Linked DNA regions of Homo sapiens: all the other regions are linked to region 6. The links are contacts of gene promoters, found by promoter capture Hi-C in blood cells and fetal thymus (Javierre and others, 2016). All regions are on one chromosome and are shown on one strand. The core of a region is centred on a gene start or on the middle of the fragment in contact, and the rest is flanking DNA. Distances in the headings are between cores, read along the strand shown. Region 1 holds the start of LOC101928007 (a long non-coding RNA gene). Region 2 overlaps RAPGEF2 (Rap guanine nucleotide exchange factor 2). Region 3 overlaps GASK1B-AS1 (GASK1B antisense RNA 1). Region 4 overlaps RAPGEF2 (Rap guanine nucleotide exchange factor 2). Region 5 overlaps RAPGEF2 (Rap guanine nucleotide exchange factor 2). Region 6 holds the start of PPID (peptidylprolyl isomerase D). Region 7 overlaps RAPGEF2 (Rap guanine nucleotide exchange factor 2).

Region 1 (3,585 bases), core at 938-3,437, 540 kb after region 6:
AGTTGAGACTTAGTTTTAAGCTTTGTTATACTTGACCTTTTTAATTTGCTACTTACAGGATGTGACCATTAATCTTAGAAAGTAGCTTTGCCCAAGTCCTGGACCTAGGTTTAGCACGCTCCCTCTGGATTTAATTCTAATCTCTAACTCCTCAGTGCCATTCAGCTGCTGAAATCTCTGCTCAGCATTCAAGCTTTCTGTTTGCTGTTTCCCACTACATATCTTGAAGGCTTGCCTTGTACATGCACAAGTCAGAAATTTACCCACAATTTGAGGGAAATTAGGATGCAGATTTGGGGACACTCTCTTAGCTTCCTGTCTTTTTCAATAGTTTGCTCCTCAAATCACAGCTCCTTTGGCGTCCTGAAACGCCAGACTTTGTCTCCTCTGACGTGTGAAACTCCTGCTTTCTTCTTGGGCTCTTTTCGCCTTCACCACAACTTGGAAAATGCCCCCAGGAAAATTCCGAGGTGAATGTTGAATACATCTTGTGTGCTTCCCTTTCTCAAGGATTTTAGCTGCTCAATATTACTTGCACTGGCTCTCCAATGCCTTCAGAAGATTGTTTATATATATATATTTTTCCAATTTTTAAACTTATTTTTGGTAGGAGGTTTAGTTAAATGTAAGCTACACTGTTGACTCCAGGGCCCAACATTTTATCCAGTGAATTTTAATTTGAACAGTTTTATCATTTCTAAATGTTATTTTAAGATTTCTTTTTAATGTGTACCCAATCATTTTTAAAACCTTTTGTTGCATGTTCCCTTTGTCTTCCTTTAAACAGTTTATATTTATCTATCTATATTTATGTTTGGATTCAAATAATTCCAAAAATTCTCTCTCTCTTTGTGTTTTTTTTTTCTTTGTATGCTTGTGATTTCTAATATTAACCGCAGATACCTTGATGTCATTTATGGAAGTTTTAAATTTCAGAATCTTTCATTTTTAGGAAATTTGTAAACAATGGATTATATGCATTTTTTCCTTATTTATTCTGGGTCTAGGTTTTAGGTAAGATGGCCTTTGAGAGTTTCCAGCCTGACAATATATACTGCTTGAAACAGAAAGTTATACATTTTAATTTTGAATTGTGCTCTCTGTGGAAAACTTGAAAAGAAGTAAAAATGTTTCGTGATGAACTTATGTTCACCAAGCCTCTCAGACACTTATATGCTTTGGCTGCAGAAATTCCAAACTCAACTTATTAAACTTTTTTATTTTACAAAGCTATATATTTTAGAAAGAAATCTATCCACCTGTTAGCTGAAATTCAATTAATTGTAAAGCATTTTTTCTTATTTAACGAAAAGAAGAATGTCTTTTTTTCCATGATTCAATAATTGAATAAGTGAAAATAAGCTTTGGTTCAGTTTGAAACTTATGACAGATTGGTAGGTGAATTATTTATCAATGAAAATGAATTATCTATAAAACTACCCAAAGCAGTCCAATACTGTCACTTGGTAGACAAATTTAGCATGATTAGAATTGACATATTTAAGGTAAGTAGGCATGGTCTACTTAATTATATTGAGACAGATAGAATGGGAAGAATTGAGACCTGAAACTAGACATTTCTGTTTGGTTTGGGCAGGTTCTCAGGGTGGCAGATGAGGAAGAAGGTGGAGAACAGGATAGAAATGAAATTTTGAGAAGGGAGTCCAGCCTAGAAGGTAGGATCCTGTAAGTCCCTTGACTGCTAGGCCATTGTATATCATTTTAACTGCTACTTCCAAAGTGTTTTCACAATGTCTCTCACATGATAGTTGCTCCAAAAATATTTTAAATGAAAAAAATTGAATAATAGAGGAGTCTAAAGATATGACAACAAATACTTCGGTCTCTAATAAGCGATTACAGGTTTCTCCATAATAAGGAGATACCTGCCAGGAGAACTGTCTAAATCCATTCAATAATTGGGTGACCTCTCCCTTGATCAAAGTATAAATGGGCATGACCAACTCTGAATCTCCTTTTGACCGTGATAAATGAATATTTCTAAGGTCTGTCTTTCCCCACCTGATAATGACAAAGCTGACTTTTTTTTTTTTGGCATGGTAAGGGCTTGCATGTATTAATTCATCTAATCCTCACACCAGCTCTATGAGATTGATGCCATTATTAAGAAAGGTAAAACAAGTATTCAATTATGATACCCCGCATTTCAATTACATTGCCATGACTTACCTCATTATAGCCTCATATAGGTTACCATAGACTAGTTCTAAATTTCAAAGGCAAAAATTGCCAAAGATTTGAATCCAAAGTAGCATGCAGACTACAGTCCTGATTATATTTTAAGTCTTTTGTTAAGTATAAAAGAAGATAGTGAAGCAAATTCTGGATAATTTGCTGCATTAGTAACTTAATAATACAACTTTTTCTTGAACCTGAAATCATGTGTTGATCAAGGAGTCTTACCAACAGTGTCTTACATCTCTTTAGAGAGTGCCTAGCCATTAGTATCATCCTTGCAAGAAAAGAGAAAATAATGAATGAGCAATTACATCTTACAGTATATTGAGCACTGTGCTAAGTGCTTTACATATAGCATCCAATTTAATTATTAGAACCGTTCTGTGTACTAGATATAATACTCTTAGCTTTTCAGATGAGGAAACTGGGCAAAATTAAATATCTTGCCAAAAGCACCTACCTGAGATAGGAATCTTTTTGTTTACAAATTCGTTAACTCAGTTAAATGCAGATTTGTTGTCATAAATTATATTGTCTGGTTATTTCTCTAAGCAATTAGTGCAAAGATAAAACAAGGAGTTGCCTTTGAACTGATGATTACCTCAGTCAAGGGTGGCTTCATTCCCCAAAGAACTGCAGTATAATGTGCATTCTTAACCAAAGCACTGGTCATTTCCTGTGGAAAAATAATTGGAGTGTGTTATATTTAGAGAACGACATGTTCATTCTTATAAAAATATTCAATTTTTTTTTCCTGTGTTATACTCCTTGGTATCTTTTCATCTTTTTATTTCGGAACCCATTCCAAGCTTCTAACCAAAAGCTTTTAGGCTTATAATTTTTGGCTATGCTACAGGTTACATGACCATGGGAACCCGATGACTGCCTTTTGGAAAACAGTGTGATTTTACTATAAAAGGAGTCTTTATGGATTCATAACTGGTGATGGGCTGTTGAGGATTGATTTTTCTCTGGTGTTTTTCCTTAGGCAGTCCCTCCACACCCAGCCATGGGTGCTCCTGGTTTTCATTCCATGGGCTGTGAGCTGTAGTCTCTCTCAAATTCCTTCTTTTTCCGGTTTCTACATGCTGTGAACTTGCTTTGAGAAGGGGCTTGAATCTATAGAGCTGAGTAGGTGAGAGTGGGTGGCTGGGCAGGGTATGTGATGTTAACACATTCTGTGTTTTTGATCCAAAGGGTAAAATATCAGGAAGGAAATGGAACTCTCATAAAGACGGCAAAAGGAATAGAACGACCTTAAATAAACTGCAAATATTGTTTTGAATCACCTCCCAACTTTTTGCTTTTCTGTCCTTCTTCTTTTGGCATCTTTCTGTCTTCCTCCTGGCCTGCCCCATTCTTTTTGGGGCTTCTCACTAGGGCAGT
Region 2 (3,756 bases), core at 461-2,960, 570 kb before region 6:
ACATATACAAAATAAAGACTATGGAAGGGTATAAAGAAAATGTTAACAATAGCTATAATTACATGGTAGGATTATGGACAATTAAAATTTGTTTCTGCTTATCTACATTTTCTAAAATTTTAAATATAAATATGAATTACTTTTGAGATAAGAAAAATAAAACATTAACAGTAATTCCACATAACTTTAACAGAAAAAGATATTCATTACAACTTACATCAAGAGGACATAAAAAAAAAAACAACAGCACTAAAGCTTGTCTTGATATATATACAATGGATAGTGACTCAAAACTGTGAAACTCCATCTATTCTAAGTTATCATTTGTGGATACACTGGTTATATAACTTTATCAACTGAGAAACTTTATGTACTGTGTGGCTTCTCAAATACTGCCTAAGGTACAGTAAGTATTTAATAAGCAAATTGTCTGGTCAGGCATGGTGGCTCATGCCTGTAATCCCAGCACTTTGGAAGGTTGAGGTGGGAGGATAGCTTGAGTCCAGGGGTTTGGGACCAGCCTGGGCAACATGGCAAAACCCTGTCTCTACAAGAAATACAAAAATTAGCCGGGTGTGATGACACACGTCTGTAGTCCCAGCTACTAAGGAGGCTGAGGTGGGAGGATTGCTTGAGCCTAGGAAGTCAAGTGAACTGTGATTGCGCCACTGCACTCCAGCCTGGATGGCAGAGTGAAACCTTGTCTCAAAAAATGATAAAAATAATTACTAATCTCCACCCAATCCTCACACACACAGATGTATATATTCACACATACACAGGAAACTACCTTGATTTTAAATGACATCTCAGATCCTACCTCTAAAAATTTGCTTCTAGATTTTATGCAACAACCACCACCACAGGTACTCCTTTTCTAGTGACGGGTATTACAACTGAGCTAGACAATAATCTTTAAGACAAAAAATAATTATGTTACCCTTCTTAAGTTGCTAACAAAAACACTGGGTATTCATGTTATGTGTCTATCAATTTTTCCTTTTACTTCTGTGACAAAGATATCCATGTTAGGATTTATTTCTAAGGATTTCAATGATAAGAATTTAATTTCACATTTATTTTCAAAGGCTTCATGTGTCAACCCTGGCATGCCAGGTAATCTCATTGCTTTGGCTGTCGGGAGGGCACTATACAAGAACTGACTGAACATTTGTGGTGCATTACTCACTGTCTAGGGCCAGCAGGAATATATACTCATAAACTGCAAGAAGTCTAATAGATTTTTCTCTTTTCCTTCATCTTTTTTTTTTTTGTAAACCTTAGACACATGCCATTAAATGAATAGTCTGAATGACTATGACATCGTCAAGCACACATTACCTAAAAGAGACCCCCTCACTTCTGCCAATGCTCCAGCACTTTTCATGACTTTCTCAGTCACCTGCCATGATTGATTTACATCACCAGTTGAGTAACTCTCTTAGAAAGTACATTCTTCCCAAATTAATACAAACTTTTAATATTCTATTGCTGTATTAAGCTGTGGTTTACCTTCCTCAACTTCAGCTACTTTCTCTAAATGTTTCTGTTAAGTGTGTATGTGTATGCATACTGATGTATCATCCTAGGTTGAAATCAGGGAAACAGAGTAGCTTTCATTAAAATCCATTCAGAGAACCTGATGACTGGTTAAATAAAATCTGTGGTGTCAGTGCACATGCATGCACATACACAAAAGCAGGAATACTTTGAAAATGCCTTTAGATACAAAAAGTTTAACTTCCATAACCTTGAAGTTACACAGCCTCAATTCACCTTAGGAAAACCCAGAACTTAAAAAATTGACCAAGCTCCCACTATGTGTGACAGCACTCTGAGAGGGGATTTACAAATATGAACCCACTTCACTGTGGTGCCACTGTACTACCACTGTCCTATCTTGCTTCTTGTAACACCCTCTTCTTCATGTCGCAGCCAGAAGTAAACTTTTAAAACACGATAGGAAAATACACACCTGATCCTGTCACTCCCCTGCCTAAAATGTTTTAGTGGCTTCTCTTTCCCTTTGGAAAAAGTTATATTCCTAACCACTGCACCCCACTGTCTTCTCCTTTTGATCTTCTCACACTCACTTCTCTTCCCCTCAGCCTCTGTACTAAATATATAAATCTATTTCTGGTTATTTTAAATACAGCGAGATACTCTGTATCTCCTCCTGGGTCTTCATTGTTCCCTCTTCCGGGAAGAACACTCTCACCCCTGGCCTGGCTAATTCTCTGAACCCTCCTCCTGAAGTTAGAAATTCTTGTAAGATGTTCCTGTGATACCCAGAATGCTGCCTGTCACAGAACTTAAATACCTTTACAGTAGCTGCTGATTTAATAATCCAATGCCCTCTCTAGGTGTGTCTTTTTCATCACTCTTTTCCTAGCTTCTCATATAGTACCTAAGGTATAGTAAGTATTTAATGAGCAGATCATTGAACTGGTAACCCTACCTAGTTTAAAGTAGAAGATATTGAGGCTGAGAGAAATTGAACAGGGACTGTTTGATCCCAATGTTCTTTTCCTTACCAGCTCTATAGTCACCCCCTTCCATCAGCAATTATAGGTAAGATCACCAGAATAAAACTAAAACACAATGAACAGCAACTGTAGTTATGCAATAAATTTAGTTTAGCCTTCCTGGAAGCCAGCATCAAAAAAATTAATGACAAAACTTCTGAACTCAACATATTTTTAACTTCCTATCATAGATCTCAACAAGAAGCCTGTCAGATGAAGATATATAAAGTTACTCAGAACCATAAGATTCATTCATCTACTTAATTATCCAACAAGTATTTACTGACATCCTGTAACAAGCCGGTCACTGTTATAGGAACTAGTGATATGGCAATGACTAGGATTAGCAAAATCCCTGCTCCCTGAAACTTACACCCTTAAAGAGAGGAGGGGCTTGAGGGGAGAAGGGGAAAGGAGGAATATGTAACAATAAAAAATTTTAAAAAAAGATTTCAGCTATCAGTAAGTACTGTAGAGACAATACCACAAGAAGAGCATGTAATAGATGGTGATGGCTGGGAATGGAGAGGATACTATTTAAGACTGGGTGATCTGAGAAGGCTGCTCTGAGAAAATTACATCTGAAGTGAGAGGTGAATAAATACAAAGGATCCAGCCAAAGATGTGGAAGGAAAGCTTTACAGACAGAAGGAATATCCAGAGTAAAGACCTTCAGGTGGGATAAACCTAGGAATGGTCGAGAAACAATTTCAAGGTGACTGGAAGGTAAAGAGTGAGAATGTTGAGGGAGAAAACATGCACTCAGAATCTGACGGTTCTGAGGAGTTCATGCACTGGAAGGTAAGGCGTGAGAAAGGCTGAGTGGTACAAATGGGGTCAGGCAGTAGGGATTAAGCCTACCAAAAAGTAGGCTCTGTAAGTGCAATGAGAAGTCACTGGGTTTTTTAAACAGGAAGTTAACAAGACCCAGTTTTGTTTTATAAGATCATTCTGGCAGGGGGTGGGGAAAATGGCTTGTAAGGGGTTAGAATGGAAGTAGGAAGACAAGTTAGAATGGAGTGAGGTATGCCATCTGGACAACAAACTTAAAAATCGCCTTTCAAAACCTAACCTGAAGGTACTTTAGAGAAGCCTCTGTATTCAGCTATTCAACTTTTTAAAAAAGTAAAAATTTGATATGCTGGAAGCACCATAAAGGTGATTAGGTATATATCACAAATCGCTACAATACTTTAGTACTGGCTTCCTACAGATTATGTGAGTGGATAAC
Region 3 (4,054 bases), core at 937-3,436, 530 kb after region 6:
CTCAGACTATATTCTATAACTTACTCTAATTCTAAACATTGATGAATAGGTCACTGTCCCTTCCTAGGTAATCTGAGTCAAGACACATAAAGAGTTTGTATTTCATATTTTAAATTTATAATACAAGGTGGTTGGAAGAAGTCTTCAACAGAGTATGTATATAGAATTAGATCGTTTTTAAATGTTAATGACTAAATTACCGTGCCTCCGACAGCATGTTTACCAGAACTCAGCATCCAAGTGTCCCACAGTTAGGTTTGCCAGTTTCCAACAGGAGGCCTCAAGGTGCTCAGACTCCCACTGTGGCATCTTCATAGTTTTTCTTTCTGGTTCTAGCTTGCTCTGGCTAACAACCACTATCATCAAAGTTGTCTGAGGAAGACCTCCTGTTGCTGTGACTGACGGGACTCTTGGTGGAAGCCCTATTCCCATGTGCCCATGGCTGCAGCTCCCCAAGGAAGCAGGACATTGTTGGATTCTCTAAGAAGCTCAGAGGAAGTTACTTCTCACTGTGGTGCCATATGGGATTTGAAGTCGTTCTACTCATGCTCTGTTTTTCAATAAAGCTGCTTCTGCCTCTGTCTTCTGTGCCGTGTCTCCTGTAAGGAATTCCCAAAACTTAAAGCAAACAAAACCAAAACCCAAAGCAAAAAATATATAAGTAAATAAATATACCAAACAAATCAACTAATTAAAAAAAAAGGAAGAAGAAATGAAGTCAACATTCTTTGAGATCCAGCTCTGATTCTACCTTACACAATGATCAAACCACAACACTTAACTTCAGCCCACAGGTCACCACATGGCCGTTCCTACCTTGCTTGTTGGCACAGCCATGTGATTTTCTTAAACAATGTTCCCCAGTCAGTGGATTCACAGGGTGAGAGTTGGCATAATACCTTTGGTGAAAATACAGAGGAGAAAGGTAATTGAAGGTGCTGGTGAGAGTATCATTGATGAGATTCTTCAAGGGCCCTAAGAGGGCTGGAGAAATAAGTAAGAAAAAAAAAGGTACTGATGGAAAAGGCTTCTAAAGAAAGACTTCTCAATGATCTATAATAACACTAACCATAACTACTAATAATTATTGAGCCTTTATTTGGGAAGGCACTGCAAAGAGAGCCTTATCTGCATCATCTTGTTCAATTCTTAGAACAGCTTGGTGAGTTACATACTATTATTTTCTCCATTTTATGAATGAGGATTCTGAGTCTCAAAGAGTAACTTGCTCAGATCCATGTGGCTAATAAGTGGTAGTGCTAGTTCTTAAACCAAATTTTCTCTGATTTCAGTGCTTGTGTTATTAGTTCTTAATATGCTTTCCAAAATATTGTGAGATATGCACCTTATTCTGAAACTTTAATGAGATCTGAAATACACATGCAAATAAGTATCTATAGAAGGTGAAAACTGTAATGTGTCTTTTTACATGCACTTTCAAAAATTATCTAAGCCTGCTTCATCCACTACCCCTTCTCTCTCTCTCTCTCTCTTTTTGTTTCTAACTCCTGAGTCCTCTCATTTTGACTCTCTTCCCATTATTCTTCTACTTTTCAGGTGGATGACCCATTTTCAAACTTATCCTGATTTTTACCTTTAGGATTTTACCTGGATATTATTCAATTTCATGAACCAAAATCACCAGTAAGATACAGCTTAACAGTTGTCAAATATTAATGATTGTAAGAAAAAATCAGATATGCTTGAAAAAATTATCAAGCATAAGCTATGAATTGATATGGGAAGTTTACTAGTGAAAACATAAGAAAAATTTGACCCACATGAGGGTTAAAGATTTAACACAGGTAACACATCCAACATGAGGATAAAATATAGTTTTATTAGTTTTGTCATAGTTGATTTGTTCTTTCTCTACACCTGCTGGTAAGAAGAAAAAACATTAACTTTGATTTAAAGCTTAGTTTGATCTGTTAATTTAGGCAGAAGCTTTATCAATAGTCTGCCTTGGCAAAAAGTAAAACACAAACAACGCTTAGTTTATTACACAGCCCTCCAACCCCCCGAGTTATCTCCCTCAGGTAGTGTCCTTGTGTCTGAGGGAAGGGGTGGGGCTTTCAGGGCATTATGAACATAGATGAATCAGAGTCCTAAGATGTTAGATGCTATGTCTCATAAATCCTCTAGTTTCCAGGACAACGACCCATCTAATTTCTGCCTTGTCGGCTGGCATTTGTGGCTAAAGTGTAACTCTTGCCTTTTGCTCTTCTTACTGCATAGAAACTGTCAAAATCACCAGTGGCAGCCAGTTTGCTAAGTCTAATGGTTAATTCTCTGTCGTTATTTGTGTCACTCTTCAGCAGCATCTGTCACAATTGATTTTTCCCTTCTCTTTCAGGTTTTGCATTCACATGGCTGCTAGAACACCACATTACCTTGGTTATTCTCCTTTACTCTCAAAGCTTCTTCATCAGTTTCCTTGGATGGCTCTTCCTTTTATTCCTAACCTCTTAATTTTGGAGTTCCCAGATCACTCTTCTGAAATCCAGTCCCATATATCTAATACCTTACTCAGTATCTCCACTTGGACGTCTGAGAGACAACTCAAACTTACCCCAAACCTGCCCTAGACATATCTTCCCTTTATCAGTTGCAATACTACAGTTTCTTAGACCAAAAATCTTGGGGTCTTCAGGCTCTGCTAGTCCATAGCTTTGTCTCTTTCCTCATAGGGGAGAAACATAGATCAGGATTTTTTTTCTCCTAAGGTCTTGCCTCTGTGATTCACAACCCTTTCTCTTAATTGACAATTACTGTATTACAGTGCATAATCATTTTACATGTGCAAAGTTGTTTTGAAACCTAGAGACCTAGGTAAATTTGGGGTAAAACCATATATGGAATTTGAAATTTATAATCTGAAATAATCTTTTTCATCAAAATCAGATAAATGCATAAATTTTCTCTTGCAGGCTTGAGTAATAATTTCAACTGGCCGCATTTCCTTGACCTCCTTTTGATCCTCCATGGGGTCTCAAATTCAACAATTCAACATGTTTAAAATACCATCTTTCCTACAAGAGGCACTTATAGCTACATTTGTCCTTCTTCTGGAAATAGAACCTCTATTCTTCTTAGAATTGTTTCTCTCCCTGGTCTAATTTTACAGCTTCCATGAGCATTGCCATTTTCTTGCATGAGCCCACCACCCTGGCTCCCATTTGATTGGTTCAGGAATGTCAACCTGGCCCAAGCTAAGCCAATCATAGTATTTTAAGACTCTAGTTACAACTGTTTGATCCATTATGTAACACAAGATGGGTCAGTTACAATCCTTCCTTAGAATATTTGAAATTGGAAGCACAGAAAATAAAAGGCAGTTCCCTTCGGAGATAAAACCTATCAGAAGTAAAACTTGGGAGCTGTTTGTAGTCACATTTCCGACTATACGAATGAAAACAGTCTGCAGTGAGAAAGAATAAAACTGACATCCAGAGACAGGTACAGATGAAAGGTAGAAAACTAGATTCTGGTGACATTCTGGTGGCTAGATCTAGTTTTTCCTGGGGCTCAGTAGGCTATCTTTTCAACAGGTATTAATGAAGAATCTTGTACTTTATATTATGGATACCCTTGCTAACTATACTAAGAAGGAAAAAAAGTATTCATTTTCTTATATAATTGGGAAGGACATCAAAGTAGCTAATATAATCAAATAGCTGCAGTAACCAGGCCTCTATTTATGCTTCTGGCACTTCAGGACTGCTAGTTTTCTGTTTTTATATATCTCCCATTTCTGCTTATTTTAGCTTTTGAATTAGTCTCAACTGGACTTCATGCAGTTATGCTTTTTCTAGGGCACTGAGGAAGATGGCTGCAAGCTGCTCCAGTGTCTTTTCATCCTTCCTAAAGGATGACCCCGAAGACAAAGGCTGTAGGGGAAAAGTCTAATGAAGGCTCCTGATTGGTGTAGTTTAGGTCTCATGACCACCTTTGAACCAATCACTCTGGCTAGACCCAGCTCATATGCTACTTCTGTGTCTGTGGATAAGTCAGAGTCAGACACAGCTTTACAGAAAACATGAGAAGTGAAGGG
Region 4 (3,611 bases), core at 1,044-3,543, 540 kb before region 6:
GATGGAATCCATTGATTGCTGACTCCAAATAATATCACTGAAGACAGGGTGGGAAAACGGAGCAAGGACTTACTTGAACAGCTTTGAACTAAAATATGATTTTTTTCACCAAGGTGAAGATAAAGGAATCAATGTGACCTCTATCCCATCCTCAAATATTGCTGTGCTATAGTAAACAAGTATCTATCAAAAATTTATAAAATGCATACTTGACAAGCTTTGTATACATTTAGATGATGTGATTTTCACAAACACCCATACACACACATACACACACACAGATGCACATATTGCCTTGCAAATAATATAAAAAATTAACCTACCCAGGTTTTTTTTTTAAAAAACCAAACCAAACTTCAGAGGTAGAGAGTTGAAATAAAATGCGGATACATTATTCTATTATAAACTCTTAATTTCATGTACATATGTAGGTATTTGAAAGACTGCATTATACTTGACAAAGAATAAGGACATTTTAATTCTGAAACACTGTCAGCTTTTCACAATCAGGTTTATCTATCAATGGCACATGTAATAGAAAATAGACACAGAAAATGTAGCATTTTTAATAATTGACTTTGGAACTGTCAGTGCTTGCTGACTTGTGTTTCTTGACTACTGCCAAAGACTGTACCCACCCTATTCTCTTTCCTTCTTTCTCCTCATATCTAAAGGCAACCATTCCCACCACATCACTCTTTTGGATCCTTCTCCCCATCCCCCCAACCCCTTTTCTTACATTACCCATTATCCTTCTTTTGCCACATATGCTTAACCTCTGCCCCACAACCGGAGTCCTCCCCACCAGCTTTTAAATGTGCAGGTCTCTCCTATCTCAAAAACAAAACAAAAACAGAATCATTCTCCAGACCAGGTATTTTCCTCTTCCTCCACTTCCCAACCAAATCTCTCAACAATCTGTTTTGGTTTTCACCATTCCTCATCCCATGGAATACTTACATGATGAACCATAGTGATCCTGTTATGCCATTTCTACATCTAAGAGTTTCCTTAACATCTCTGTCCATGATCAATCCATCACAACATCTGTTTATTACATTCTCTAATTTTTCTCAAATTTAGATTTCTCTTTGTCTTTGCTGTTATCATCCCACTCCAATCATTATTTTTTGCCTTGAGAACTGCAAAAGTCTCCTTAAGGAACTGTCTGGATTCTAACTCCATCCACCCAACCTATTTACCATACCACCTCCTGATATCTTATAAAAACTAAAGCCTGATCATTTTGCCCTCATCCACTAAGCTCCTTTTACAAATGAAAACAAAACACTTCCATGGCTTCCCACTGCTCCTGGCATAAAGACCAAAACTCTTATCATGATCTGCAAGATTTATACATTTTCCAGACTTACACCATGCTCATGGTCACTCTCTGCACTCCCAAGTTGCAGGGGCTGCTCTTGCCTCCTTCATAGACAAAAGGGCCTTTGCACATGTTATTTCCTCTGCCTGAAACTTTCCTTCTTCCTTCCTTTCCTGACTGATGCCACCTCCACTCCCAAAAACAAACTGGTGAAATACCCTCAGAAATCTCATGTTAGTGTTTATCCCTTCACTGAAGCACTCATTTACTACCGTTGTAATTTTGCATGTAGTCCCAAGAGTATTTAAGCAGTTACTGTCTGCTTCCTCCACTACACTCTCACCTCCATGATGGCTGGTGCCATATCTGTCTGTGTGTACTCCTGTGTTCACCGCACCAAGCACTGTAGGCACTCACGTTCTTGTTGAGTGAGTGAACCTTCCACTGACTGGGAAAGGGCACTAGAAAGACCCCATTTAATCCTCTAGACTAGTTTCTGTCAAAAGTCCAAATATTTTTCTGTAATAGATATAACTAACGACTTAAAAGTAAACTGTTGCCAAACGGTAGAAGCAACCCAAGTGTTCATCGACAGATAAAAATGTATGAATGATATTCATACAAGTGTGGTATATGCATTATTCAGCCTTAAAAAGGAATGAATTTCTATTACATGCTACACCATGGATAAAACTTGAAAACATCAAGCTAGAAATAAGACAGTCACAAAAGGACAAATAATATATAATGCTCTACTCTAGATACCAGAGTAGTCAAATAGTCAAATTCACGTAGGCACAAAGTAGAATGGAGGGTGACAGGTGCTGGGGGAAGGAGGGATTGGGGAGTTATTGTTTGATGGCACAGAGTTTTAACTTGGGAAGATCAAAAAAGTTCTGGAGATGGATGGCGGTAATGGTTGCAAAAACAATGGGAATGTATTTAATCCCACTGGCCTTTTACACTTAATAATGTGTAAAATTGTAAATTTTAATGTTACTTATATTTTATCACAATTTAAAAAAAGTAAATGGCAACTCAGGGATTAAACAATCAAGTTCTACACCTTCCATCTGGCCCGTGTCCCACAAAACACATATCCATGTGCCAAAACACTCCTCTCAAGGTTAAGTCAAATTACCCCCATGCTGATGGTATCTGACTTTATATATGTAGGTTACCAATTGCTTGCCTCTCTCTGGAAAATGTGTGACTTATCTCAAGAAGGAAACTAACCTAACCGGGAAACCTTATAGATGAAGTAAAATCACACATCCTTAGGCACTGATGCTTTTCTGTGCTAAGACTTGGCATGATCTCTCTCTCAGCCTGGCTCCATGCCTACAACCTACACATCTTAAAACTCATAATTGTAATACAGAAATTTCGTTATCCACACTATCTTGTATGTTGAAACACAATTATGGCAGGTTATAATACGCCAAACACTGCTAAAGAAATATAAACAAAGGATTTAGGAGAAACCCATATTATAGATTTTATACAAATAAGAAAAAATCACACTTACCTTGAAGTTCACTCTAATTTGGGTTATATTTACCCCATTCCTTAACCATTACCAAGTAGCATTAACTAGATCTTGTTAAGAAAAAGAACCATGTAAGAACTTTCTACCCTGTCAATAACATCCAATGACTTCCAAATTATCAGTAACAACACTCCAAAAAAATGGAGATTATATAGTTCAGGAAACTACTTAATGCAAAGGCTTTCCAGGCTATATTTAATATCATTATATTCTTTTTTTTTCCACCTAAAGTATTCACTTTCTAATTACTATGAAATTGAGAAAAATGGTCTGTTCTCAGTAATGATTAATCACACTTAGAACATATACAGTGTTTAACCATAGATCTCAATGTGCTTTACAAACATTTAATTAAACTTCATCAAAACGCAAGGGAATCAAGAGAATAATGTACTTATCTTTAATAGAAAAATAAAGTGTATAAGATTATAGAGTTAGTAGTATAGAAGAATGCAAAATAGAATTCTAAGTTTCTTAATACCACTTACTTCACTTAATAGTTAAATATTCCCTCTCCCCACTACCACAGAGGAAAAACCATAGAGGCTGGGGAAAACTTGTGGGTATAGCAGAAAGAAGTCATTCTTTGATACGAGAAAACAACAAATTTTACAAACTGGATTTTTAGTGTTTCACTGTTCCCCCCAAAAATGTCATTTTAAAATGCTATTTTCTATATGAGTACATCAAACTAATTAAGCACTAAGCCAATGCAAAATAAAAGATGGTAGATATGGT
Region 5 (3,865 bases), core at 729-3,228, 590 kb before region 6:
CATACTCAAATCCAAAACAATTACTACACAACCAACTCTTGCTATGATGGAAAGGTGGATATAAAGCTACTTAAATTTTTAACCTCTGGGTACACTTAAAGTCATTGCAGCACAATTCATAACAGCAAAGACATGGAATCAACCTAAATTCCCATCAATGATAGAATGGATAAAGAAAATGTGGTAAATATACACCATGGAATACAATACAGCCATAAAAAGAACAAGATCATGTCCTTTGCAGGGACATGGATGGAGTTGGAGGCCATTATCCTTAGCAAACTAACAGAGGAACAGAAAACCAAATACTACATGTTTTTACCTGTAAGTGGGAGCTAAATGATGAGAACACATGAACACACAGAGGGGAACAACACACACTGGGGCCTTTCGGAAGGTTAGAGGGTGGGAGGAGGTGGAAGTTCAGGAAAAATTACCAATGGGTACTGTGGGCAGCAAGCCACCCAGGTGCCGAGGCAAGAGACCGAGGACATGAGCTGTTCCAGTATAATAAAATATAAAACAAGAATAGTTATACTAGATCTAGGTTATAGACATGATTATATATAAAATCATTAATCATTAGTTAGTAGTACTTACTCTTTATTCCAATATTATAATAATCCTCGTTCTATAATCATAACCTAGGAAAAACCAGGCCATACAGAGATAGGAGCTGAGGGGACATAGTGAGGAGTGACCAGAAGACAAGAGTGCGAGCCTTCTGTTACGCCCAGACAGGGCCACCAGAGGGCTCCTTGGTCTAGCAGTAACGTCAGCATCTGGGAAGATGCCCGTTGCCAGGCGGACCATGGTCTAGCGGTAGCCTCAGTGTCATGGAAAAACACCGGCTACTTAGCAGACCGGGAAAGGGAGTCTCCCTTCCCCAGGGGGAGTTTAGAGAAGACTCTGCTCCTCCACCTCTTGTGGAGGGCCTGACATTAGTCAGGCTCGCCCGCAGTTATCCGGAGGCCTAACCATCTCCCTGTGATCCTGTGCTTCAGTGGTCACGCTCCTAGTCCGTCTTCATGTTCCATCCTGTACACCTGGCTCTGCCTTCTAGATCGCAGCAGTAAATTAGTGAAAGTACTAAAAGTCTCTGATATGCAGAAATAATGGCATTAGCTGTCTTTCTCTTTGTCTCCTCTCTCTCTCTGCCTCGGCTGCTAGGCAGGGAAGGGCCCCCTGTCCAGTGGACACGTGACCCAAGTGGCCTTACCTATCATTGGAGATGACTCACACTCCTTATCCTGCCCCTTTGTTTTGTATCCAATAAATACCAGTGCAGCCTGGCATTCGGGGCCACTACCGGTTTCCGCAACTTGGTGGTAGTGGTCCCCGGGCCTAAATGCCTTTTCTTTTATCTCTTTGTCTTGTGTCTTTATTTCTACACTCTCTCGTCTCTGCACATGGGGAGAGACCCACCGACCCTGTGGGGCTGGTCCCTACAGGGTACTAGGCTTAAAACCTGGGTGATGAAATAATCTATACAACAAACCCCCATGACACAGGTTTTCCTATGTAACAGACCTGCACTTGTACTCCTGAACATAAAATAAAAATTAAAAAAAAAAAAGGACAAAAACAGCAAAAGAAAGACAGAAAAAAAGTCTCAACCATCACACAGCCTATATGCCACTAACCTGACATTTTGCTGTCTCCTTCCACCCACTTGCGTCTTCACACAAAACCAGAGTAGAAGCAAATCACTGTGACAATTTTACCAACTGCCTTTATGTTTACATACAGAAAACATGAGCTTAATAAAAACAGTGCTCACGAGAAAATTAATAGAAGTAATACTGCTTGAAAGGCTCATTTTAACTTTTTTTTTTTTTGTCATAAACTAAGCTTAAGAAAGGGTTTATGTGGAAAGGGTTTACTAAGAAGTTTCATTCACATTATTATTTGTAGACTCCTGAAGGTAAGACTGAGTAAACCTGATTTTTTCCAATTTTTGTCCAACAAATACTACTGTTTATACAAAGGAAATTAATAAATTAATGAGTTTTTAAAGCCTACTAGTCTTGGGCTCTATTTCATCAGACAATTTTGCCACTAAATCTTTTTAATTGCTCGTAGATTCATTTTCCTGTTCAAGCTTACCAATGTCATCATCTGTCCGGTCAATTGGGTCCTTCTCTAGGCAGTCTCTCACAATGTCCCTGCTCATCAGAGGATCTGATGCTCTCTCAATGTCTTCTTCATCGTCGTCGTCTTCGGAATCCACTGCTGTTTCTGGCAACCCACTCAGGTCCATATCACCAGCCTCGCTTTCTGTGGCCTTAAGACACACACACAAAAATTAAAAACTATTTTAAGTAAATAAATCTTTGGGGCCCAAAGAAACAAGAGCAAGCCTCATTCAAAATAATGCTTGTTATATTTATTTTTCCATCCAACAACTATGTATGCACCAGAAACTACATGTAACAATTACTTTAACAAAATATGAGTGATTCCACCTCCTATTAAATTTTTGGTCAGGAATAACGACTTTATCTCAGTAATTTTGATTTCTTATCCTAGCTGTCATATGGCATTTGAAACATAGTAGAATAAAGAAGAAAAAGTATTTGTTTTCACTCCATTCTTCAAAGAGAATGGCTTAGGCTAACAGCTTAAGGGTGACAATTCTGAGCAATTCCTTTTGCAGAATAGGTGTGAATTTATTAATGCCAAGAAGCCTGGACCATTTTACCCCAATTAGACAGTCCTTATGGAAAAATGAGCCACAAATCAAAGGTAACTTGATAAATATGCAAACGAAACATTAACAATTAGTTGGATTATCCCAATGACCACTGTTAAACTATAAATCGAGAAACACTATAGGAGACCATACGCGTAAAGGCAACATACTCTTTCTTCCCATTCATCAACACAGGTAATCACATCACTAAACTTCAAGTTATCAAGATACCTGCAAATTTTCTAAGTCACTGGAGTCACACATTTCAAGATGGCCTCTTTTGTTGAACTAGCTCAATCCTAGAACAGTTATCCTTTCTAGGTCACCATGTAGCCTTTTGTGACTATCATCTCAGCAATATGTATGTATATATCATACAGATCTTATTTGACATTATATACCTAGACTTCAATTATCACTTAAGCATAGTAAAAATGAATTCAATTAAATATTAACTACATCAATCTTGAACAGAAGTGTTTTTCCAAATGAAATATTAAAATCTTGAAAACATCTTATACAATTATTAATTTTGTAGAAAACGTATATTACAAAGTTCAACTTCAAATCATAGCCCATACGATTCTCAAAGATAATAAATACCTTTTTTAAGAAAAAAATATTTTTTAAAAGAAAGATAAAAATATAAAATACTGACTTTGATAATAATAATAAGGTAACACTAAATACTTACAATGTGTCAGGTACTGCTCTAATTGCTATGTATTTATTAACTCATCTAATCCTTAAAACAACCCTATAAAGTAAAAGCCATTATTAACTTTTATTATTCTCTTAACACTTAGGTGAAGAGAAATAATTTTTCCAAGGTCATGCTGCTGATAAACTGTGGAATCAAGACTACAACCCAGGAATTCTGGCTTCAGAGTCTTAATCGCAATCTAATCTGTCTCTTTTTAAACATTCACTGAATATGAATGTGGCTTATATAAGGATCTATCCTTTTCCTATAATTTAATATTTACAGAATAAATTGTGCTATTTTCTTTTTCTTTCTTTCTTTTTGTTTTTTTTGAGACAGAGTCTTGCTCTGTTGCCCAGGCTGGAGTGCAATGGCACGATCTCGGCTCACTGCAACCTCTGCCTCCCAGGTTCATGCGATTCTCATGCCTCAGCCTCCCGAGTAGCTGGGACTACAGGTGTGCACCACCA
Region 6 (3,880 bases), core at 175-2,674:
CTTTCGTGCTTAGTCCAGTGTATAACATCACAGGCAAATTCAAATTGAGAATAGGAATCAGTTGTTCTTTAACCGTAACCCTTCTAACTTTTACTTATCCTAAGACCGGGTAGCAAGTAGGGCAGGAGCCTTCATCTAGAGGGATGGTGACAGCTCTGATAGGGGAAAATTAGCACTGGTCTTTCCTTCCAAAAAGCCACTCTGGCTGCTGCTGTTGACACAAGGCTCCTGGCTTTTGAGACATTATTTGAGTGCTGGATTCCAATACTTTTTACTTTCTCATAAGAAAAAAAAATGTGAAGCATCTAAGGATATCTCCTGCCTTATTGATAAAGTAAGCCTCAGGCTGAATCCAAATTGCTGAGCTCCAATAGAACTACAGGGCAAAGCATCTACACAGGGAATTGCCACTCTTCTCCAAAATTAGGCTTTATTAAGAGGCAAGGCTATGTTCTCCTCATATATATGTGTGTGTGTGTGTGTGTGTGTGTGTGTGTGTGTGTGTGTAAAAAGTAAATGTTTTACACAGATCCCCATAAGGGAAAAGTGGGCTATAGTAATACAGTATTTTTTTGTTTTTCTTTTTTTTGGGGGGGGGGGGGACAGTTTCGCTCTGTCACCCAGTCTGGAGTACAGTGGCGCGATCTCGGTTCACTGCAACCGCCGCCTCCCGGGTTCAAGCGATTCTCCTGCCTCAGCCTCCCGAGTAGCTGGGACTACAGGCAAGCACCACCACGCCCGGGTGATTTTTTTTTTTTTTATTTTTAGTAGAGACGGGTTTCATCATGTTGGTCAGGCTGGTCTCGAACTCCTGACCTCAAATGATCCGCCCGCCTCGGCCTCCCAATGTGCTGGGACTACAGGCGTGAGCCACCGCGCCCCGCCAAATACAGTTTTATCAGGAATCAAAACTGTGCTCTCTTCTGGACTCTCAGCTTTAGCTGTTTGGAGCGTTTAGTCTAAGCCTTACCACTTACATTGTAATGTGAAGATCAAATTGTAACGACATGGCAATAATAAGGCTCCTATTGGTTGGGTACCACCAGTTTATGCCAGGCATTGTACTGATTCATGTCTTTAATCCTCAAAACGACCTTCCGAGGTCAGCGTTTTTATTCTTTTTCCAGAGGAGCAAACTGAGTTTCTGAGAAGTCACACCCAACTTGGTGGCAGAGCTGACGCTGGCATGGGGTTGACTCCAAAGCTCTCTACGCCACGAGGGTGGGAAAGACAACGAAACACAAGCGAGAAGAATAATGAGAACTGGGATCGCAACTTCATTAAATGAGAAGCCAGGAACAGGTGGCGGAGGGCACGCGGTTCGCTGCACGGAGTCGCTCAGGCTCTTTGAAACACCGCGCGGGGGAGCGGGGCGGTGCCGGAAGTCAGGCCATGGCTTCCGGTTCTTGCGTCGGAAGTGGCCGGTCAGCGTCGCTGCCGGTCTCCGGCGGAGACGGACTCTGGAGTTTGGGCGGCCCGGGCGGCCACTAGGTACTCTGATATTCCGTACTAAACACGTCTGCAAGTCAAGATGTCGCACCCGTCCCCCCAAGCCAAGCCCTCCAACCCCAGTAACCCTCGAGTCTTCTTTGACGTGGACATCGGAGGGGAGCGAGGTGAGCGGAGTCTGACGCTCGCGGAAAAGCCCCGAGGAGGCGGGGGTTCCCGGGATTTGGGGGATTCCAAGGGCGGAATGCGGCTCCGGCCGGTGACTGCTCAGTTTCGCGGAGGGGATGGCTGCCTAGGCTGGTCCGCCGGAGCAGGCCCGGAGATCTAGGGCTAGATCGATCCAGCGCCCTTGTATCAATGCCATCGGTGGTGCGGAAGTTTCTGGAAATTTCTAGTTCGGGAATTGTGGCGTCCTTTAGGTTTGCCTCCTGATTTGGTGGCACTTCCACGCCACCTTTGCACTACCAAGTTAGCATGAAATATTTTATGTTTGCAATGGGACAGTTCGGAAAGCATATCCTGGGATATGCGTCTGCTGGGCCCCAGGAAACTATATTTGCCACATGAGATAATATATCAGCACGTGCTGTGTTATTTATACGTTAAAGGGACTTGTTTGCTCATTGCTTTTGCCTTATTACTGATTCTTAATTTAGAGGTCCGTTCAGATGAGCAAACATTTTCTCTTAATTTGCCATTGGGAAAATGCGCTCAACGTAGTGATGGTGTTGCCTAGGTTACATAGCCGCTCAGAAGTTCCTAAGGCCTGGTGAATTAGGGAGCGTGTTGCTTTGTAACTGGATTGGCCTTGTTCTGGAACACGTTGGAATTGCTGGCCAGGCAATGTGTTTGAATGCATGTACAGGACACACACACGTTTACACGTACATTCAGTTTGTTGCAACTAGCTAGGGCTAGGTTTAATCTCACCTGTCTTAGCTGCTATCTAGAGGAGGAATTTTTACAGCTTTTGCTTCAGAGGTTGCATGAGGCAGTTTGCTCAGAGCACAAAGGCTGCAGGTATACGTAACACGTGGCAAGTCCGCCCACCCAAAGACTGTTTAATTTTCTCCCGTTGGTTGCTTGGTGATTGGAAATTCTCAGTACCTCTTGAAGAAATTACTCAGGATTTAAAACTATTTGTATTTAATGATATCTCTTACATGGTGCTAATCTTTTGGCTACTATAATTGGTTATGATCCTTAGTGTAATGTTTCAAATCTGTTTATATACATACATGACAGTAGGTAGACTAAATTTGAATATTAGAATAAAATAAGATTCACTAATTCTAGTGAGTATATTCAAAGGAAATGAAGTTTGTATGTCAAAGAGGTATCTGCACTCCCATGTTCATTGCAGCATTATTCATGATAGCCAAGATAATGGAATCAAACTAGGTTTCCATCTACAGATGGATTTTTTTTAAAATTTGATATATGTGCACAGTGGAGTACTATTCACCCATAAAAAATAATGAAATCTTGTCACTTCTGACAACATGAATTAATATGGAGGACATTATGTTACATGAAATAAGCTGGGCACAGGAAGACAAGGCATGATCTCACTTACATGTGGTTTCTAAAAAGTTGACCTTGAAGTAGAGAATGGAATGGTGGATTTCAGGGGTTGGGTAGATGTTGATCACGAGAGACCTAATTTCAGTTAGAAAGGGGGAATAAATTTAAGAGATCTATTGTATAACATAATGACTATAGTTAGTAGCAATGTGTTGTGTTCTTGAAATTGCAAAAAAGAAAAATTACAGTAAAGGGGAACTTGGTAATTCATGATTGATCTGCTACCATAATTATACCAACCTTCTTTTTATCATTTGTCTATTTGGTTGTTTTGCATACTGACAAGATTTTCTTTTCTTTTAGTTGGTCGAATTGTCTTAGAATTGTTTGCAGATATCGTACCCAAAACTGCGGAAAATTTTCGTGCACTGTGTACAGGAGAAAAAGGCATTGGACACACGACTGGGAAACCTCTCCATTTCAAAGGATGCCCTTTTCATCGAAGTATGTGTAAATTTTCTTAATCTTGTTATTCTTCATACAGACAAGTCCTGTTCTTTAGGATTTGGGGAAGAAAACACTAAGTAGGAAGTGAAGCTTAAAAAGTACTATTAGCGTCCATGTCTGAGGCAGTAACGCAGTTTCGTAAAGGTTAGGCTGTGCGAGGTGGAATTACTTATGGTACTAAGGTTTATCTATAGAGAAATGGACTCCCCTAGCTTTACCCATCCTCTCATTCTCCTTCACTCTAAGATGATTTGATTGAGAAAGGAAGGCCGTAGTCAACCAACCTTAGGTAGCTTCATTGCCTGGTGACAAAAAAGTTATGCATAGACCGGGCGCAGTGGCTCACGCCTGTAATCCCAGCACTTTGGGAGGCTGAGGCGGGTGAATCACGAGATCAGGA
Region 7 (3,878 bases), core at 18-2,517, 520 kb before region 6:
AAAAATTAGTAGTGCTTCCAAAAACCAATATAGCAATCATGACACCTGTGGCATTCTAATACGTACTCTCTTGTATAGAACATAAAGGAACTGTCTCATTTTAATTCGAAAAATTATACATAAAATTCATACTTTTAGGCAAAGTTACTCTAATAGCCAAAGATATATCAATGATAGATTTCCCCAATGTGAATAAATTATTCATGATCTTTTCCCTGTACAACAATAAAACACAAGCATAAAATGCTACTAGTTACTTAACCAATTAGTTTTCAAGGATAAATCAGTTTTTCTTCCTTGACTCAAAATTCCCGGATAACCCCAAATGTAATCTAGATCTTCAAAGAACTCATAATGAAAATCATAGATTTTAGTACTTAGTACAGTACTTTAGTAATGTACTTTAGTACTTAGTATAGTACTTAGTCATGTACTGGCATCAAAGAAGTGAGCAAGGAGATTATTACAGACCTCAATTAAAATGTAGAATGAAATAAAAGCAAGAAACCTTGTTAAAAATAAAGTGCAAATAAGAAAATACAAGAGATTTTAAACTTTGTTTCCTTTTTGACCAACCTTTTAAAAAAAAATCTGACTGAAATTTTACCAGTGGCCTCCCAAAATGTTCTCCCATTGAGATTCCTGAACTTTAAAGTTTTCATCTGTAGTATTTAAAATGTAAATTTCTAATGAATTTCCCATAAGCTTTCACATAAAAAGGAAAAAAAATCCTTTATGTCTGCCTGCCTTTCTCTCTTCATTTTTTTATTTGCAAAGCAGGTTAGTGAAGGACAGTGTTCCATTCATTTTTTTAAGTGCTCCATTCATTTTTAAAAATAAGTAGCTTGCACTTGAGTTCTTTCTTCAACATGGACAATCCATCCCCAGGTCTGTACAGATCAAGCAGCCTATTCTACCACCCAAACCACTGATAATTTCAAAGTAAATTAGGGCAAAATACAGAAGGACAAGACGAAGCAAAACATATGAATATTATAAATTCATTAGTAACAGTGCAAATTCACACGTAAACTTAGGTTAGTGTCAGAAGACCACACACAAATTACAATACCTGAGATTTAGTGCATTCCTTTGAGCCAAAATGAAATGAGTGCCATAAAGGAGGAAAGGAAAAGATGAACATTATCAGACATGCTATATTACATCTGCCAAAATGAAGATAATGTTAAAATTAAGTTAAGAATGATCATATAGAATCAGCTATATGTATAATGCTTCCCATGTTATTTAGCCATGCACTTGAAATGCTCTTGCAATGACTTTAAATCACCTGTGAAGTTGATCATGCAATTCTTTTAAATAAACTTTTCACCCTCAGTCCTTCACTATTAGCCAATTTCTTTCAAAGAGAACTATTTCTGTTAAGAATAAGTAAATATGGCGTAGGGGTAATAAAGAATAATTTCTATTTAATTCTTTTTACTATGTGGTATCATACACACAAAACAAAATTTTGCAATCTTCCTACATTAAAATTATGTATTTATGTAAAATAAATAATAAATTATAATGTTATTTTTACACCCCAAAAAAGGATGCAATCCTTATGACCATGTTGTTGCCAATCTTAACTCATTTAGTAAAATTAATACCACATGTCACACATTAGTAAACCAGTATATGATCCATTAGTAATCAAGCCAATTTTTTCATCCTACTATTGAATTTTCCCTAAAAGTATCTGCTGGCTAGGTAAGACACTCTTAAAAATCCACTTAAAAAAAAAAAACTTGTAACAATAAAAGAAATACATATTTTAAAACAAATAATGAAAAGGGAGCCGTGTAAGGAAACTGAATGAAGCTTTCCATAAAGGGGGAATCACGCTGGGGGTGAGGGGAGAGAACAGTTATTAAATGGCCCACCCAACTAAAGTGTGACAAATATGACTATAAGAACAAACAAACCAACTTTAACGCTACATTTTAAATAATCCATACTCCCACTGACTATTTTAGTCTGAAAACTAATCTGGAAAAACAATTCCAAAGCAGAAAAAAATTAGCAATATTTATGCTAGGCTAAAATATTATCTGTGTTGTACTATTAATATGTATAACTATTTTTAATACATATTTCCTTCTTCCATAATGCTACATCAACCCTAAAAACATTACCTTTTTTATGGACAATGGTAACAAAAAAACCTTTCATGGTTTTTTTAATACTAGTCTCTCCAACAGACAAAGATGTCTTTGTGATGAGGAAAAAGCAGTCCTTTCCAAATGAGCTCAATAAAATGATTCAACTATGAAATCCATGTTAAACTAAAATACTTCATGGGTAGCAAGAGGAGTAGTCAGGTTGCTAGTGGTCAAAACCACATTAAATATTTAAATAAAAAGGGCTCTCTGAGAAATAGAATATATGAAGTGTGGGTATAAGATATATCACTTAAACTTACTAAAAATTGAGTAAATAATTTTAAGTCTGTGTACATTTTTCCCATGCATTTTGTATTTATACTTATTTGCAGGAAGAAAGAAAAAAAAGGTAAAGGAAAACAACTGGGGAATGTAAAATAGTTGTTAATTATCTATTTTTATTTTTTATATTTTTATTTTAAATTAATTATACATAAAATAACCACTCATTTAATGGTATTATATGCATAAATGATCTTTCACATTATTATGACATATCCAGGAATCTAAGCGACTTTGCTCTTGAAAAAACAAAGGAATAAGAAAAAAAAGGCTTTAAAGTGACTTTATTGAGATCTTGAACAAAGCACTCATTATCTATGTCTTGGTTTCCTCAAACATAAAAAGCAGTTTATTTATCAATATTTATGAAATAAATGACAATGAACTGGGTTATGTCTGCCTGCCTTTAAGAGGATCTTTGAACCTATTAGAAATATTTCTAAGCATCTTTACATTGAGATTTTAAAAAGCATTATTTCAAATTATTCCTCCTTCACTGCATTAAAAAATAAATCTCAGAGATATTCTCATAAAGGTATAAAAAGCTATGAAAAATAATGTAATTTTTACATATCTACTTTTAAAATAAAAAACAGGGATGACAGCAGTCATTTGGGTTGGGAGTGAAGGGTGGAGTGCACAGGAGGGCGCTAAAATGTTAGATTAAGGTAAAACAACTTAAAATATTCCAATTACAATTACATGTGCTTATCACAAAGCTGATCTTCAGAGAACAACTTAAGAAATAAAGGAGCTAGCAAAGTCTGTTGACATGTTATTTCAATGTCTTTTAAAAACTAATCATATCATGTTTCCCAGAAAAATCTACTCTTTCTATAATAAATGTTTAAATAATATATACATATTATATATTTATTTTTATATTTATTAATATAACAAATAAAAATAAATATTTAAGTATACTTAATGTGTGTGTATATATATATAATTGAAAAGATTTGTCAAAAATGGAAAACTTAAACATCTTTTCACAAAACCCCAACAAAAAACTAGAAATAAATAAAAATATTATACTTGTATAACTTACCGTGTGATAGCCTCTAGGCAAAGGAGGTTTGCCCATGGGATAAGGATCCACAGTGTCAATAATTGTTTGTCTTTCACCTTTCTGGTTGATTTTTCTAAATCTCCTTCGAGACTGTCTATGGGAAGCTTGCCGCTGAAAATATTCTTCATTTTCATCCATATAGTCCACCTGAAATAAAACCCCCCAAAATTTCATTTCTCCAAACACAACATTTCCTATTAATATTAGATACAGAAAGAAACTTACAGATAACCCATATTCAATCATCTTGCAAAGACATCTGTAGAAAACTATCTAGACAAACTTCAAGTGTCTCTGAACTTCTCTGGAACTAACTGGTTTTGAGTAACATTTCTTTTATGAGGAGGCATTTTCAGTTCCAC

The links. Contacts are between HindIII fragments. The CHiCAGO score rates a contact against its expected background, and 5 or more counts as called.
Region 1: a fragment that was not itself captured here is called in contact with the fragment with the promoter of PPID in region 6 in 1 of 17 cell types (M2 macrophages); the score reaches 5.2 in M2 macrophages.
Region 2: a fragment that was not itself captured here is called in contact with the fragment with the promoter of PPID in region 6 in 16 of 17 cell types (M2 macrophages, erythroblasts, non-activated CD4 T cells and 13 more); the score reaches 14.3 in M2 macrophages.
Region 3: a fragment that was not itself captured here is called in contact with the fragment with the promoter of PPID in region 6 in 1 of 17 cell types (M2 macrophages); the score reaches 5.7 in M2 macrophages.
Region 4: a fragment that was not itself captured here is called in contact with the fragment with the promoter of PPID in region 6 in 17 of 17 cell types (M2 macrophages, non-activated CD4 T cells, erythroblasts and 14 more); the score reaches 12.9 in M2 macrophages.
Region 5: a fragment that was not itself captured here is called in contact with the fragment with the promoter of PPID in region 6 in 11 of 17 cell types (erythroblasts, M2 macrophages, megakaryocytes and 8 more); the score reaches 18.6 in erythroblasts.
Region 7: a contact is called between a fragment that was not itself captured here and the fragment with the promoter of PPID in region 6, in 17 of 17 cell types (M2 macrophages, megakaryocytes, total CD8 T cells and 14 more). The highest score is 17.8, in M2 macrophages.

What each region holds. Positions count from the first base shown.
Region 1 is chr4:158,178,951-158,182,535 of GRCh38, reverse strand. GASK1B-AS1 (GASK1B antisense RNA 1) reads right to left here. Exons shown (of 5, transcript NR_147410.1): 2 at 2,801-2,875. LOC101928007 (a long non-coding RNA gene) reads left to right here and starts at 311. Exons shown (of 4, transcript XR_007058350.1): 1 at 311-470; 2 at 1,598-1,676. The HindIII fragment of the contact is 1,646 bases long and covers 1,365-3,010 here.
Region 2 is chr4:159,288,272-159,292,027 of GRCh38, reverse strand. The region is part of intron 7 of RAPGEF2 (Rap guanine nucleotide exchange factor 2); the gene reads right to left. Among named protein-coding and RNA genes, the nearest start is that of MIR3688-1, 160 kb to the right of the region's middle. The HindIII fragment of the contact is 2,906 bases long and covers 258-3,163 here.
Region 3 is chr4:158,195,633-158,199,686 of GRCh38, reverse strand. GASK1B-AS1 (GASK1B antisense RNA 1) reads right to left here. Exons shown (of 5, transcript NR_147410.1): 3 at 817-899; 4 at 201-599. Among named protein-coding and RNA genes, the nearest start is that of TMEM144, 13 kb to the left of the region's middle. The HindIII fragment of the contact is 473 bases long and covers 1,950-2,422 here.
Region 4 is chr4:159,263,306-159,266,916 of GRCh38, reverse strand. The region is part of intron 7 of RAPGEF2 (Rap guanine nucleotide exchange factor 2); the gene reads right to left. Among named protein-coding and RNA genes, the nearest start is that of MIR3688-1, 140 kb to the right of the region's middle. The HindIII fragment of the contact is 4,147 bases long and covers 220-3,611 here.
Region 5 is chr4:159,313,010-159,316,874 of GRCh38, reverse strand. RAPGEF2 (Rap guanine nucleotide exchange factor 2) reads right to left here. Exons shown (of 30, transcript NM_001394067.2): 9 at 2,107-2,284. Among named protein-coding and RNA genes, the nearest start is that of MIR3688-1, 190 kb to the right of the region's middle. RefSeq lists an enhancer at 664-958. The HindIII fragment of the contact is 250 bases long and covers 1,854-2,103 here.
Region 6 is chr4:158,720,940-158,724,819 of GRCh38, reverse strand. It overlaps PPID (peptidylprolyl isomerase D), which reads left to right and starts at 1,424. Exons shown (of 10, transcript NM_005038.3): 1 at 1,424-1,616; 2 at 3,337-3,477. The coding sequence starts at 1,532. RefSeq lists enhancers at 846-1,430, 1,318-1,797, 1,431-2,014. The HindIII fragment of the contact is 3,604 bases long and covers 1-3,572 here.
Region 7 is chr4:159,240,986-159,244,863 of GRCh38, reverse strand. It overlaps RAPGEF2 (Rap guanine nucleotide exchange factor 2), which reads right to left. Exons shown (of 30, transcript NM_001394067.2): 6 at 3,496-3,663; 7 at 1,073-1,090. Among named protein-coding and RNA genes, the nearest start is that of MIR3688-1, 110 kb to the right of the region's middle. The HindIII fragment of the contact is 1,119 bases long and covers 708-1,826 here.